Regions from separate parts of the Homo sapiens genome. Here all the other regions are linked to region 2. The links are contacts of gene promoters, found by promoter capture Hi-C in blood cells and fetal thymus (Javierre and others, 2016). All regions are on one chromosome and are shown on one strand. Each heading gives the region's core, a stretch centred on a gene start or on the middle of the fragment in contact. The rest is flanking DNA. Distances are from core to core; before and after follow the strand shown. Region 1 overlaps SH3PXD2A (SH3 and PX domains 2A). Region 2 holds the start of COL17A1 (collagen type XVII alpha 1 chain). Region 3 overlaps SH3PXD2A (SH3 and PX domains 2A).

Region 1 (4,551 bases), core at 1,171-3,670, 290 kb before region 2:
AGCTTCCTGCCCTCATCAGCCAAAAACAGAAAGAGGACTTTCTTTTTTTTTTTTTGAGATGGAGTCTCGCTGTGTCGCCCAGGCTGGAGAGCAGTGGTGCGATCTCGGCTCACTGCAAGCTCCGCCTCCCGGGTTCAAGCCATTCTCCTGCCTCAGCCTCCCGGGTAGCTGGGAATACAGGCGCCCGCCATCACCCCTGGCTAATTTTTTTGTATTTTTAGTAGAGACGGGGTTTCACGTGTTAGCCAGGATGGTCTCGATCTCCTGACCTCGTGATCCACCCGCCTCGGCCTCCCAAAATGCTGGGATTACAGGTGTGAGCCACCGCGCCCGGCCCAGAAAGAGGACTTCTGAGTGGAAGGCTAGGAACTCAGATTGGAGTGAGCTAGAAGCGAGAGTACCAGAGTTCTAGTCCTGCTGTCACTTGCTGTGATCTTGGACAAATCACTCCCTGCTTGGGACCTCATTTCCTTGTCTGTCAAATAAGGGAAATGGGCAAGATCAGAGGGCGGCCAGTTAGTTTCATCTCAAGGTGCCATTGCCAACTGATAGGTAGTGACTTCCTAAAGATACTCGGTTTTGTTTTTTAGAAAGACTCTGAGACCATGTCTGGGCTCGTAATCAATTAACAATGCCTGCCATGGGTACAGGACAGGAGAATGCCATGATCAATTAGTGATGTCTGCTGTAGGCATGAGTGGGAGATAGCAACATGAGTGCCAGATACTTGTCATCCTGCTAGATATCTCTAAGGGCTTCCTGGTTGGAAAACTTATAATTCCACCACTGATTTCCCAGCGGACATCGTTAACATCAGTTGACAAACATGTACCTCCCATATTGTGCTATTTGCACACAGCTGATTTCTCTCCCTGAAAGGGACATTCTCAGCCCTGCTGGACAGTCACTGGGGGAGCAGTGATGCCCCCAAGGCTCCTAGCACTCACACTCACAAGACGTCACCCAGAAATTTAGAGCCAATGAACAGTGCCAAGGACTGACACCCAGAGGACATTCCAGCTTCTTACAATTTTCCCCAGTTTACAAAAGAGCTTCCCCCGCTGTATGAAAATCCCACATTGACCCCATGGAGAGGCTGGGGGTGCAGCAAAGGGCGGAGATGGCTTTTGATTTTCTACTGCACAAATGAGGGTCTGATCTGACAGGGCCTTGAGTCCATTAGGAATAGGATTTGGCCAAACACCCTGTGAACACCGTGAATACCCTGGGCCTGGATCAAATGCACACAACCATCCAAAATGAGGCTCACAGAGCGAGTCCTCAACTGTATAGGAAAGGTGTGATTTCCCACACAGACCCACAGCACGGTGCATATCTGACAACTCCCAGCGGCTTCAGTGTCACACAAGTTCCCCAGCTCTCTTGATGTCCACAGGCTCTGGCTGGGTGGAGAGTTCTCCTGAGGGCAGGCCCCGAGGCGGTGATTCTCAGGGCCTGAGCTCAGCCCTCTGGGTCTTATTTCCCTTTATGCATAGATGTGCAGAGACCTCTCCTAGATGCTCTATCCCCGCTGCCACCACCTTCCTTCCGTACCTCTCTCCATCTGCTTGGAACCAGGTCCCGAGTTGCTCTGGACCTGAGAGGCCCCCACAAGCACAGGGGTCTTCCTAAACCCACAAGGTTGGGAAACTGCACGAGAAGTTGCAAACTCCATCTGCTTAAAGGGGAAAAAAGATCAACCCAAACTTTTCCCAACACCCTCCAGCCGGACCCAGGTAACCCCAGGATTCAAACTCAATGGTAACTGGCTTTCCCATCCTGAGCCTGCCCAGAGGTGCCAGTTCACCCTGGTCTTCCTCTCCCAATATTCCACAACTCCCTCACCTGCTAACAGGATCTGCCAAAGGGGAACTCAGGAGAGGCAGGAGGAAGCTGGAGTTCATACTCAGGCCACAGGCACAAGTTGAAAGGGGCGCTGGAGCCCAGCCAGCTCCCAGGTGGAGCGGAGCCAGCCAGGGAATCCCCAAGAGCCGATGGAAGCCCCACAAGGCTCCCCTGGAACCCCTATGTGTTCCTTCAGGAATCAAAGATGCCTCTTTCCAGGAGCAAGGAAAAGCTGTCAACTAATAATTACTTTTTAAAAAACAATGTTTTCCTAACAGCATTGTTGGAAGGGAAATAGGTTTGTAGTTAAACTTTGAAGGTGAAAATCATTTATCTAGAAAACCTTTAACACTGCCTTCTGCCTCTCTTCCCTGGAGGCAGGCCGAGCTATTTGGTGAAAGTGATGTCTACATTAACGGGGCACAGGAAGAAACTTCTGTCTCTAGATGGAGTGGGGCTCTCTGGCTTTTTGGAGTTTTAAGCTTCTGAGGGCCTAATTGGTGACATTTCAGCTTACCTGTCTGGCGTCTCTGTGCCAGTCCTATCCTAAGGGCTTTCTTTATATGGACTGTGTCATTTTATTTTTCCTGTTACCCAGTGAGGCAGTTATTACTATACACCCATTATACAGATGAGAAATCAAGCACAGAGAGGTTAAATCACTCATCAAAGCTTAGACAGTAAGCGCTGGGGCTGGTCTTGAAACCCAAGTGCCCTGGCCCTGGAGCACATGCCCTTAGCCACTGTGCCCCAGCAACACACAACTCTGAGTACAGTTTCGTCATGACACAAGAACCCCCACCCAACTGCTTCCTGCCTCAATATGTAGTTTGCAGATTTTGAGTAATATCTGAATACAAGATTCCAGTTGGACAAGATAATTTGGACAGGTCCCTGGGGTTGGTTGTAATGGGATCTAACCAGTTTACATTCCACAGGAATGATCTAGAATGATGGTCCAGGAAATATGAGGTAATGTGATTTTTATAATGAGTTTCATGTCCTCCTTGTTAGACATGTTCTTATGTTTACTTTTTTCACCTGTGCTTTCTGTCCCATTATACCATAATGACCAGGAAAGACATATTTTATTTTTGACTTCCCACCAACCCTAGCTCCCCCAATAGGTGACTCTTTAACTATTCAATATTAATGTTGCAAATAATATATGAATGCATTCTCCTTTTCTAAAAGAGTAAAACATTAAGATAAGGTTCCCCCTTTATCAAGCCCTTCCTCCTACTGATATCCCTAACCCCCATCTAGAGATGAGTCGGATACCAATCTGGAGTACAGCCTTCTAGATTAAAAAACATTTACATTCATATGCTGGATATGTACCTGCAAAATATAAATCTTGTTCTTGGGTTTTTTTTTATATAATTATTATCATACTATAAGTACTGTTTTGAAACTTGCATTGTTTGTTCAGAATGTTTCTTGGAGATCCACCCATGGATCAGTCTCATTTGCTTTGACTGCTGTACTAAGTGCTGTGAGAATATCACAGTTGACTTAGCAACTCTGTATGGATGGTCTTTTAGGCTGTTTCCCATTTTTGCCATTGCAAACAACATGAGGCTGTCTGTGCCTGCCTGGGACCAGTGAATGACCTCAGTCAAGGCTGATGTTCTCCTCTGTCTAAGGCATGTGAGCATTCACAATGACCCATGCTCAGCACATTCTGGAGCTGGCACTGCCACACCAGGTGTGCTGGAGCTCTCTGCAATCCTTGGTACAAGATCATTCTTAGAACTTAGCAGGTTACCTCCCCAGGCTGTGGCCTCATCGCTTTAGTCTAGGGTCAGTAATCTCGAACAAATTCCCTCAATGATTAAAAGGCAGAGTGCCTGCGGAAGAGACATTTCCTCCTCTTTTCTGCTTTCAGGTTGGTTCTTGGCACACACTGGGATCACCCCAGGTTGATCTCAGCTGAGGCCTGCTTTGGATATTAAACCAAATGAAAGCTTATATAAATTTAATGAATAGAAAAATTAACACAGTTTGTTACCTGCAAAGTGAGGCACTTGGAATAAGAACTCCTCTAACTCTAAAAATGCAATGATCCCATAAAGCTCCGTAAGTGACATCAGTACACACCCACACCCATATACACATTCATTCCAAGGCTGGTTGTTAGTGATTCAGGAATTATAATTTTTCCACCCATCATGAGGTGGGCTGTTGGGGAGCTGGAAAGTGAGTGTGACCCCAGGGTGGGGTGCATGGGTGGAGAGTCTGGAGAGATGAATAAGGAATAGAGAGAAAAGCTTGTCAAAATAGGTTAAGTCCTTCAGAGCCAATGAGCAAACCTGAACAACCCTCTTAACTCTATCTTCCAAGCGGTGCAGGGGAAAATAAAGGGCCTCTCCCAGTTCTGATCAAATATTGACCCTGTGCACTCGCTGGCCAGAGTTCAGACTAAAGCAATAGCAGCATGGTGGAGTCGGTGTTTGCAGAGCAATTACTGTAGCCCAGCGCTTTGTAGGTCAGGTTGTGAAACAACCGTCCATGGAGCCAGGGCTTCAGAGAGTCTTCCGGCCCCTCCTCAGTGGGACCAGGAAGGAGCTGTGCAAGGAAATAGACAAAGGCTGGAAACGTGGTCCAGCCACCCGTGAGAAAGCAACTGAAAAGGGCATCTGCCGCCCCTCCTCCCACCTCAACTGCACCTCCAAGCAACCCAGGCCCTTAATCACCAAATGGGCC
Region 2 (4,889 bases), core at 1,011-3,510:
CGTCTACCTAAAACTATTCAGCCGATGCTGTCTAACATACACACACACACAAGGACAAACCACTGTTAGTGACAGTGAACCATCACGTTAACTGTTTACCATCACATTTGGGTTTAAACCATCACATTATCTTATTCTAATGACACATGAAACACTTTGTTCTTGATACAACAAAGAGAATGAAGAAGCTAAGTATTTTTCTCTTTATTTTTTGTTTTAGGAACAAATGTTCCTATACTCTGCTAATGAATTGCAAGTATTTTTATAGCTTCTATTACTCCATTCTCTATACACTTTAAATTTTAAAACAAAACAACAACAAAATTGCCAAAGTATTAGAAAACCATCCACTGGCTATTGACCTGATAACACAGAAGGGCCCAGCAGTTTGATGCCAGGAAAGCCAATGCCCTGGAATTGAATATCTTGGAGGCTTTGTCTCTGTAACACCCCAGAGATGGGTTTGCTGCTTGCTACATTTGGTATCCTGGATTTTCATGACTGGGAGCAGGTGGGATAGGGCACCAGCTTTGTGATTATGCTGGTTTGTTTACAGTTGTGTCCTGCCACTGTTAATAATGGCAAATGAAACAAACAATGTAAACACAGACTTCTTTTTGTTTTTCATAATCTGAGAAGGTGGTTAGTTCTTAGGTCAGGTCAGTTTCACCAATCTAAGGAGTTTTTTTCCTATTTTTTTTTTTTTTTGAGACGGAGTCTTGCTGTGTTGCCCAGGTGGGAGTGCAGTGGCACAACCTTGGCCCACTGCAACCTCTGCCTCCTGGGTTCAAGCAATTCTCCTGCCTCAGCCTCACAAGTAGCTGGGGTTACAGGCATGCACCGCCACACCCAGCTAATTTTTGTATTTTTGTATTTTTAGTAGAGATGGGGTTAGTATAATATGAGTGTGCACCACTACGCACACCACTATGCTTGGCTAATTTTGTATTTTTTGTAGAGTCAGGGTTTTGCCATGTTACCCAGGCTGGTAAGTTTCTATGCAAGCTTGAAGCAGAGCTGTTCACTTTAATTGTTCCTGTGTAAACTCTGATCAGACTCATGTGGGTGTTTTGCAGGGCCTAAGAGTAAAGCAGGACACCTCTGAATCTCTGGAGTGAGTCTGTGTGGGGATAGACATCTGTCTTAGGTTAGTTCTGACAGATCTGTGCCTTAGCTCTAAGAGAGAACATATGGAGGTAAGAAGAAACTATTCTGCTTTTCAAATAAATACCTTTTAAAAATCTTGCTACGTTTTACAAGTCCACTATTAGACTACTGATTAACTACTTCTCAAAAGAAGGAATGTGCCAGAGGTTTTGCCTCCACTTCAAAAAGTAAAGTGATAATTTGTCAGTTACCAGTTAACGTCATCCACTTAGGTATCTAAACTGGTAATTCTCATCTCAAAGTGAATTTTTTTGGCAGGAGGAAACCCAAGTTGACTCGTAAGAGTATATATACGGGAAACAATTTTCTTCCTTTTTTTATTCCTCTAAGTTTGATCCTGCAAAATTTCTGAATTAATCAGATCATTTCAAAGATCCTACTTTTCTTTAGATTAGAGGTAATTTTACAGCATGGTAAACAGCAATGTTTACCATGTATGGCTTAATCAGAGAGGCCCAGTCAGCACAGGGACTGTTTCTAGAAGGCCCCCTTACCTATACTTTAACTTCACCCCTGAGTTGTTCTCTTCGTCCAGTGGAGAGAGAGACAGAGGGAAGAGGAGAGCAAGATAGCGAGAGAGGAAACTGAGATTGGGAGAGAAGGAATTATAAGCCCGTATCATATTCTAAATAAAACAACACAAGTCATTTTACAATGCTGAAAACAATGCAGAAAGGTCTTGCCTCTAAAGCCCGCTATATTTTAACCAGCCTTCAGCCTTCTCCTTTTCCCCACTTATTTCCTTTGAAAGACCTACCCTAAGCAGAATGCATACACCAAAGTCATCTTTTATAACCAATTGATCACTTTAACCAGAATGCTAGAAACTACAGAACTTCATCTTCTTTTCTCCAATAAACATTTAATTTCTAAATGGCAAACCTTAAATCAAAGTCTCAGAGAAAAGGAGAAAGGTCAGTCTTCCTGTTTACTTACCTGGTTTGAGGTTTTGAAGGAATTGGAAACAACTTTGAATAAATCCCCCTCTCTCTTTCTTCTCCTGATGTTTTCTTCTAGAAATTTGCAGTGCTCACTTTTTTTTTATCCAGACCCAGCCAAGGTGTGTTAAAGCTGAGTGATCTTTCAAAAATGTTCACTTTTCTTTCTCTCCACCTTGTTTCTTTCAACTCTTTGCTTCCAAACATGTCCTGACAAAGGTGTGTCATGGTTTACAGCGTTACTCCACCCTTCCAATTATCTGACACTTGCTGGATTTAAAAAAAAAATCTGCCTCCAGGAATCAAACTTTACTGGAGGCAGAAAGCTTCTCCTTCCAGCTTAGGTAGATTAACTATTTATAAGGCCCATGGGGAAAAGGAAACAAAGGACCAGCATAAAGGAAATGCTTTTTTATTGCCTACCTTCTACAGCTGGAGAACTGCCACAACTTTGTGGCAGTACCCTTCCTCAGTGCCATGGGTACTGGAATCCCACTGCATGATTCATGAGTCTAGGCACGTGGATGGGCTCATGGATGAGCATGGTCTAGGCACATGGATGGCCTGTGGTCATACTGCCTGAGCCCTAGAAAAACTGAAGTTGGCAGGATTTATATTCAAGATCTGTTTCCCCTATAGATGTCTTCGTCCTCTGTTCCTGTGTCCTGTGTCCTTTGTCTTGTTTCCCCTATAGATGTCTTTGTCCTCTTTCCCCTCTTGTGACTCAAGCCAGGTCAAGCCCATCTGGAGAAAATAGTTGGTGAACTAATTCATAATATGCTAATGACTGAATGTACTGAGCAATTGGTGGGGTAGGGGTTCGTTTTACAAAAGAGGCAACCAGATATAGTGATGCTGACCTAAAAGAGTGACATGTTAGTGATGGAATTTTAGGCATTTAGCCACCTAATAATGGAGAGAGGTGCTGTTGGGAAGGGATAAGGACCTTCTTGTCCTTCAAATCAGGTGACCGCATAGTCTCCATACACCTAAAGACATGTGTGGGCTCCCAGATGTCCTGCAACTCCAAGTACATCCTGGGGACCTTTAGATTTCCCTAGAGGGTCAACTTGCATCAATCAGGATAATTCTTATGAATACCTGGATAGCATCTGGCTTCCCAGGGGGCCTAAAGACTAGCTTGAGACACTTGGTGTTGGTAAAATGGGAAGTCTGAACCTGGAACTCACTCAGGCAGTCCTTTGAGGCCATAGCACATTCCTGGGACCCAGCATCACACTGGGATTCCCAGTTCTGAGGCATTATCCTAAGATACTGGAGGGGAGCAGTGGGGCCCTTACAGCATAGCACCGATGTGCAACTGCACCTTGCTATTGTGGGCACTGCATCCCATGGAAGGGTAGCAGACCACAACAACAGCTGTGGGGCTCTTGCTCCTAAGCTGCCCATATTCCACACTGGAGTCGTGCATTTCAGAACCCTTTCAATTATGCAGAATTTGACACTTGCTTTGTAGGATGTTCTTGCCTTCCCCAAATAAATACTCAATATGTCTTCCGTCAGTTTCATAGTAGAAGAACACTGAAGAACCCAGAACACACAGAGCTTTCAGCATAAAATAGACATGCCCCTGCATCATTTATTTCTTTATTCATGAATTCAAGAATTAAACAAAAATATATTGGCTCCTGCTTGGAGCCAGACATTAAACTATGTGCTAAGAGTTTGGTGGTGAAATATGAACATAGTCCCTCTGCTTATGGAGTTCACAGTCTAATGGAGGAAGACAGGCCTTACATAATGTATTAGTCGGTGAGGGTTCCCATAACAAAATACGACGGACTGGGTGGCTTAAACAACACAAATTTATTTTTTCACAGTTCTGTGGGCCAGAAGTTCAAGATCAATGTGTCAGGAGGTTTGATTTCTCCTGAGACCCCCCTCTCCTTGGCTTGCAGATGGCCGCCTTCTTGCAGTATCCTCACATGGCCTTTCTCTGTGCATGCACATCCCTGATGTCTCTCTCTGTGTGTCCTCATCTCCTCTTCTTAAAGGACACAGTCAGATTGAATTAGAGTCCACCCTGATGGGCTCCTTTTTTACTTAAATTTAACTACTTCTTTAAAGACCCTATCTTCAAATAAATTCACTGAGGTACTAATGGCTAGGGCTTCACATATGAATTTTGGAGGGACATTATTCAGCCTATAACAGTTACGTACAATATATAATTGCAGATTATATATATATATATATTATAAGAGCAACTGCAAGAATATGATAACTATTATAAAGAAAGCATACTGACTTGAGGCCAGGAGTTCAAGACAAGCCTGGGCAGCATAGCAAGACCTTGTCTCTACTAAAAAAAAAAAAATAGCTGAGTATGATGGCATGTACCTGCAGTCCCAGTTACTCGGGTGGTTGAGAAAGGAGGATTGCATGAGCCTAGCAGTTCAAGGTTACAGTAAGCTATAATGGCGCCAGTGCACTCTAGCCTGGGTGACAGAGCAAGATCAGAAAGAAAGAGTACTGGCTACTGTGAGAGCGTAAGAAGAGACATAATCTTGGAGAGGGGTGTTAGGAAAAGTCCTGCTATATAAGTGATACATGAAGGTTGAAAAGAGATCACACAGGTGAAGGGCAGGGTGGAGAGTGTTCTACTATCTAGATGGGGCAAGAGTCTCTGAGAAGGCTCTCAGGTGGAAGCTGCACGGTGAGTTGGGGGAAGAGTGATGAGGCCAATTTGCTCAAAAGCATCAAGTGAAGGGAGGCAGGCAGCGGGCGAGAGGCTGGCAAGGGAGGCAGGACTAGATCACACAG
Region 3 (5,088 bases), core at 2,231-4,730, 260 kb before region 2:
AACTCCAGGACGTCATTTGCTCCCAGGTCCCCTCAGGAGGGGAAGAAGGGACCTGCCAAGCTGGCTGGAGAAGAGTCCTGCGCAGCGGCCAGGGCAGCCTGCCAGGGGCTGCATCTGGTCGGGCTTCCCGCCCCAATTCCCCGGTTCCTCATCAGGCTGAGGTTGAGGTGAGAGGAGAAACACACAGCCAGCCCTCCTCCCCCAGTGCCCCCTCAAAGTCACGTCATCCAAGCATTCCCTGGGGAGGGCGGCCCCCTCCCTCTGACCTCAGCCTGTTTTGCTTGGCCAGAGCCCACCCCCAGTGAGCCTGTCCCCTCCCCACACCCTTGCTCACACCCAGGCCCATGCAGGGAAAGGCGTGAGCTATAGATTCCAGCCCTCCCAGGCTGCACACCAAAGCCCCCAGATAAGGGGCGGGGGGGTTGGGCGCCCCTCCCAGCCATGTCTTCTGAGATGCCAACTGGGCTCCAGAGGGTGGCTAGGGGCTGGCGCACATGGCCAGAACTTCCCTTGTCTTCTACCCTCTAAGTGGCATCTCCCCCAGCTTTAACCAAGGGGTCAGGGCCGGGGAGAAACACAGGGAAGCCCAATGTGTACAGCCAAAACCAATTCAGGGATTCAATCCTAGCTTTGCCTCTTAACTGGTGTAAGATCTTGGACAAATCAACGAGTTTCTCTGACCCTGCATTTCCTCGCCTAGACAATGAGGGTAATAAGAGGGTATGCCTCTGATGGTTTCAGTGAGGATTAAATGGGATAATGCATCCAAAGCACTTAGCACGTGCCTGGCCCACAGAAAACATTTAATGTATGGTCGTTCATTCTTTTTTTTTTTTTTTTTTTTGAGACAGTCTTGCTCTGTCACCCAGGCTGGAGTGCAGTGGTGCGGTCTCGGCTTACTGCAACCTCCACCTCCTGGGTTCAAGCGATTCTCCTGCCTCAGCCTCCCAAGTAGCTAATTTTACATACCCAGCTAATTTTCGTATTTTTAGTAGAGACAGGGTTTCACCATGTCAGCCAGGCTAGTCTCGAACTCCAGACCTCAAGTGATCCGTCTGCCTCAGCCTTCCAAAGTGCTGCGATTACAGGCGTGAGCCACCACACCTGGCGTTCATTCTTTTTATTTCCTAGATTTCCTGGGAATTCTAACACCAGTGGCAGTGCCAAGGGAGGCTTAATCCCCACCTTGACAATCTCCATCAGCCAGCTCCAGACACAAGTGGGAGATCTGTTGTTCTTGTTATTATTATTTGAGGCAGGGTCTTACTCTGTCACCCAGGCTGGAGTGCAATAGCATGATCTCTGCTCACTGCAGCCTCGACCTCCTGGGCTCAAGCCATCCTCCTGCCTCAGCTCCCCTGCCCCCCACCACCAGTAGCTGGGACTACAGGGGCGCATCACCATGCTGGGTTAATTTTTTGTATTTTTTGTAGAGATGGGGTTTCATCCTGTTGCCCAGGCTGGTCTCAAATTCCTGGAGTCAAGTGATCCTCTTGCCTCGGCCTCCCAAAGAGCTAGGATTACAGGCATAAGCCACTCCACCTGGCCCTGTTGTTATTATTTTATTCTTACTTCATCCTTCTTCTTTTTCTTTTTTTTTTTTGAGACAAAGTCTTGCTCTGTCACCCAGGCTGGAGTGCAGTGGCACGATCTTGGCTCACTGCAACCTCTGCCTCCTGGGTTCAAGTAATTCTCCAGCCTCAGCCTCCTGAGTAGCTGGGATTACAGGCATGCACCACCATCCCCAGCTAATTTTTGTATTTTTGGTAAAGACAGGGTTTCACCAGGTCTCAAACTCCTAACCTTAGGTGATCTGCCTGCCTCGGCCTCCCGAAGTGCCGAGATTACAGGCATGAGCCACTGCGCCTGGCCTTATTTCATCCTTCTCATTTGACTTATTTGTGTAATTATTTCTCTTGAGTAATAGGCCATTGACCTTTTCTGGATGTTATACATACTGTGCACAAAAGCAACTTTATTAAACTTGCTATTTTTTGTTATTTGGAATACACACTCTAAGCAAAGACAGGGTGCTTCCTATGCAGATGTAACCCCTAGCTGTCCAAGTTCCCTGCAGAAATTCTGGAGCTCTCACACAGCTGCACACATACACAGGTTCTTCCCTGGCATCCTGCCATGGCCCCCCATTCCCTAAATCTAACACCAAACTTCTCATTCAGCCTCACACAAGCTCTGCCCTGATGCAGCACTCAGCCATGAGGGCATGGTGGGGGGGGAGCAGCACTTTCATGCCTGTTAACGAGGACCCCAGGAAGCCTGGAGCAAGCTCAGGGCAGCCTCTTCCCAGGGAGGGTGAAGAAGCTTACTTCTAACTAACTCACAGCCTCAAAGGAAACTGATCTGAATACCACCACCAAGCCCCCTTAGAGAATACCCCCTCTCTCCAAGGAACAATCCTCTAAACCCAAAGTAATAAGCTGAACCACCCAAAAAAATTTTTAAATGGACCAAGAATATAAATAAGCATTTACCAAAGAAGAAATACATATGGCTAACCCATACATGCTAAGACACTCCATCATCTCATGTGTAACTGAAAAAAGCCAAATCAGAACGACAAGATGTTATTTCTTTTCTATCTGGCTGACAGAAACAATCACGTTTGGTCAGATAGGTGCTGAAGTTATGAGGAAATAGATAGGTCTCAGACTTCGTGGGAGGGAGCTGAATTCTTTCAGGAGGGCCATTTGCCAACATATATCAAAATGAGAAATGCAAACTGACCCACCAATTCCCCTGCTAGGAATTTATCTTGGGGAATAAATTCACAAAAGTGTGTCAAGTTATATGTTCAAAGATGTTTTTGGCAGGATCCATCAAGTTGTCCTGGGAATCCTCAGAATAAATACTTTGCAACTGTCTCAAAATCTAGGTAGCCTAGGTTTGCTGACAGGGAGAGAGGATGTGCCACGGATGCCATGAGAAAAGCAGCGTGCAGAAAAATCCGTCTCTTTTGCAGAAGTCACCTTGAAGGCAATGCTGGCTTTGTGTAAGAAGGTGGCATTCCTGATTCAGGCCAGAGTTGACCCTTAACACCCACCTTGATTGAGACTGGCTTTAACCACTGCCCTTACAGGGTTGGGAGCATTATTCTGGCTGGCCTCATCACTGGGCTCCACCATTTCATGGCAACTGAGGCACAGAGGGAGGCCACCCTAGCAAGTTCCATGTGCTAGGCTCTGCACTGGAGACAGCCATACATCATTAAGCCCATGTAACCCATATACAAATCCTTGGGATGGGTACAAGCCCATCTAACAGAAGAAGATGCTGAGGGTCCAAAAGGATCAGTGACTTGCCCAAGGTCACACAGCTGGGATGTATTAACAGTAGAGCTTGGATTCCAGTCCCGGTGGGACTGATTCCAAACCCTGTGTTTTGTCCCTGCCTCATGGCGTGGCCTCACACTACAACTCACAGACTTTGGAAAGCTGAGGGAGCTTGGTGAGCCTAGGGAGTGGGAGGCAGGGAGGTGCCTGCAGACATGGCTGAGATGAGGGAAAGAAGGGCAGCGGGCAGGGGACAGGCTTCAGCTGGGACAGCCATGCCAGGCCAGTCAGCGTGTCAAGGCCGCACTCACTCCTGCAGAACAATGAAAAGAGACATCTCAGCACCCACACCCTAATGCCTCACTCGAGAGTGTCCCCTGAGATGTGTCCCTCATATTGTCCCTTGCCAGCTGACGGCCACTCCCCAACCCCTGGGAGGAAATGTATTGGCTTGCGGGGCTATTTTGAAGCTCTGAGGAATGTGCCTGACCTGGCACTCCCCTGGGAAACCCCTCATCCACTGACTGGCTCAGACCAAGCACCCTCCTTCTGCAGAAACCTCCAGGTGGCCCCAAGGGGAGGGTGGGCAGGCATGGAGTTTGTTTCTTTCGGTGGCTTGGAGCTTTGATTTCCTCGTCTTTAAAATGGGAAGGCATGAGGAAGGGCAGAGTTGGGAAATAACTGCAAGCTCTCCCTTAGCTTCTAATATTCTCTGTTCTCTGGGCTTTTCTGTGGCCAGGGGAGGTTTATTTGGAGGAATGCTGAAGCAGTCCCGAACTCAGCCCTTGCCCAGGCAAGTCCAGCTTCCAGCACAGAGGCTGGGTCAACCCGGAGGGGAAGCCACACAGCATCCACCGAGCCTCTGAGAACATTTTCCTTATCCTGATCTGAATCTACTTCCTGCTAATGCCCGCCCATACCCACTAGTTCTGCCTCTGGGGCCACAGAGAACATATCAAAATCCTCTCCTGAAAGAGGACATTTCACATAGCCCCTCTCCCGGCATCCCCTCGGCTTGAGGATAACCAGCCCTACTTCCTGTGGCTTCTGGTGACCAGTCCTGTGTCTCCACCATCCAGGCTGCCCTCCTACCCTGCTCTCATAAAATGTACACCAGGACCTGAATCCAACCTTCACCTGTGTAGACCAGGTGTAGACAGGCAGAGAGGGCAGAATGGAAGCAACTCTTGCCATGTCATCTCTCTATTTTTTGAGATACAGTCTCACTCCATCACCCTGGCTGGAGTGCAGTGGCACGATTTCTGCTCACTGCAACCTCCACCTCCCGGATTCAAGCAATTCTCGTGCCTCAGCCCCCTGAGTAGCTGGAGTTACAGAAGTGCACCACCAAGCTTGGCTAATTTTTGTATTTTTGTAGAGATAGGGTTTCGCCAAGTTATCCTGGCTGGTCTTGAACTCCTGGGCTCAAGTAATCCACCGGCTTAGGCCTCCCAAAGTGCTGAGCCATTGTGCCCAGCCTCTCTCTAAACTTTCTAAATCCTAAACCTCTACAAATGCATTCCAAGAAATGTGAATTCTGTGAATGCATCCCTAGGATTTGGAGAGGCATTTATACTGCTGGCTTCTGCTGGCTCCCAAACAACCCCAACCCTGACACCTCACACACCTGCTTCCATGAAAACCAAACCTCCTGCTGCCTACACTTGGGCCGCTGATTTCATCAGCGCCCATTACATTTTCTTTTCCTAGGACAGTATCATTTGTTGAGAATTTACTCAAGGTATAATGGCTGTTAACAGGCGTTGCAGGGAGGAGGGAAAGGGGAGTTATTATTTAA

Evidence for each region. Contacts are between HindIII fragments. The CHiCAGO score rates a contact against its expected background, and 5 or more counts as called.
Region 1: a contact is called between a fragment that was not itself captured here and the fragment with the promoter of COL17A1 in region 2, in 3 of 17 cell types (total CD8 T cells, M1 macrophages and naive CD8 T cells). The highest score is 8.6, in total CD8 T cells.
Region 3: a contact is called between a fragment that was not itself captured here and the fragment with the promoter of COL17A1 in region 2, in 1 of 17 cell types (naive CD8 T cells). The highest score is 5.1, in naive CD8 T cells.

The regions. Positions count from the first base shown.
Region 1 is chr10:103,790,118-103,794,668 of GRCh38, forward strand. The region is part of intron 2 of SH3PXD2A (SH3 and PX domains 2A); the gene reads right to left. Among named protein-coding and RNA genes, the nearest start is that of SH3PXD2A-AS1, 46 kb to the left of the region's middle. RefSeq lists an enhancer at 1-670. The HindIII fragment of the contact is 190 bases long and covers 2,326-2,515 here.
Region 2 is chr10:104,083,620-104,088,508 of GRCh38, forward strand. It overlaps COL17A1 (collagen type XVII alpha 1 chain), which reads right to left and starts at 2,261. Exons shown (of 56, transcript NM_000494.4): 1 at 2,104-2,261. The HindIII fragment of the contact is 1,426 bases long and covers 1,004-2,429 here.
Region 3 is chr10:103,820,319-103,825,406 of GRCh38, forward strand. The region is part of intron 1 of SH3PXD2A (SH3 and PX domains 2A); the gene reads right to left. Among named protein-coding and RNA genes, the nearest start is that of SH3PXD2A, 33 kb to the right of the region's middle. The HindIII fragment of the contact is 2,320 bases long and covers 2,321-4,640 here.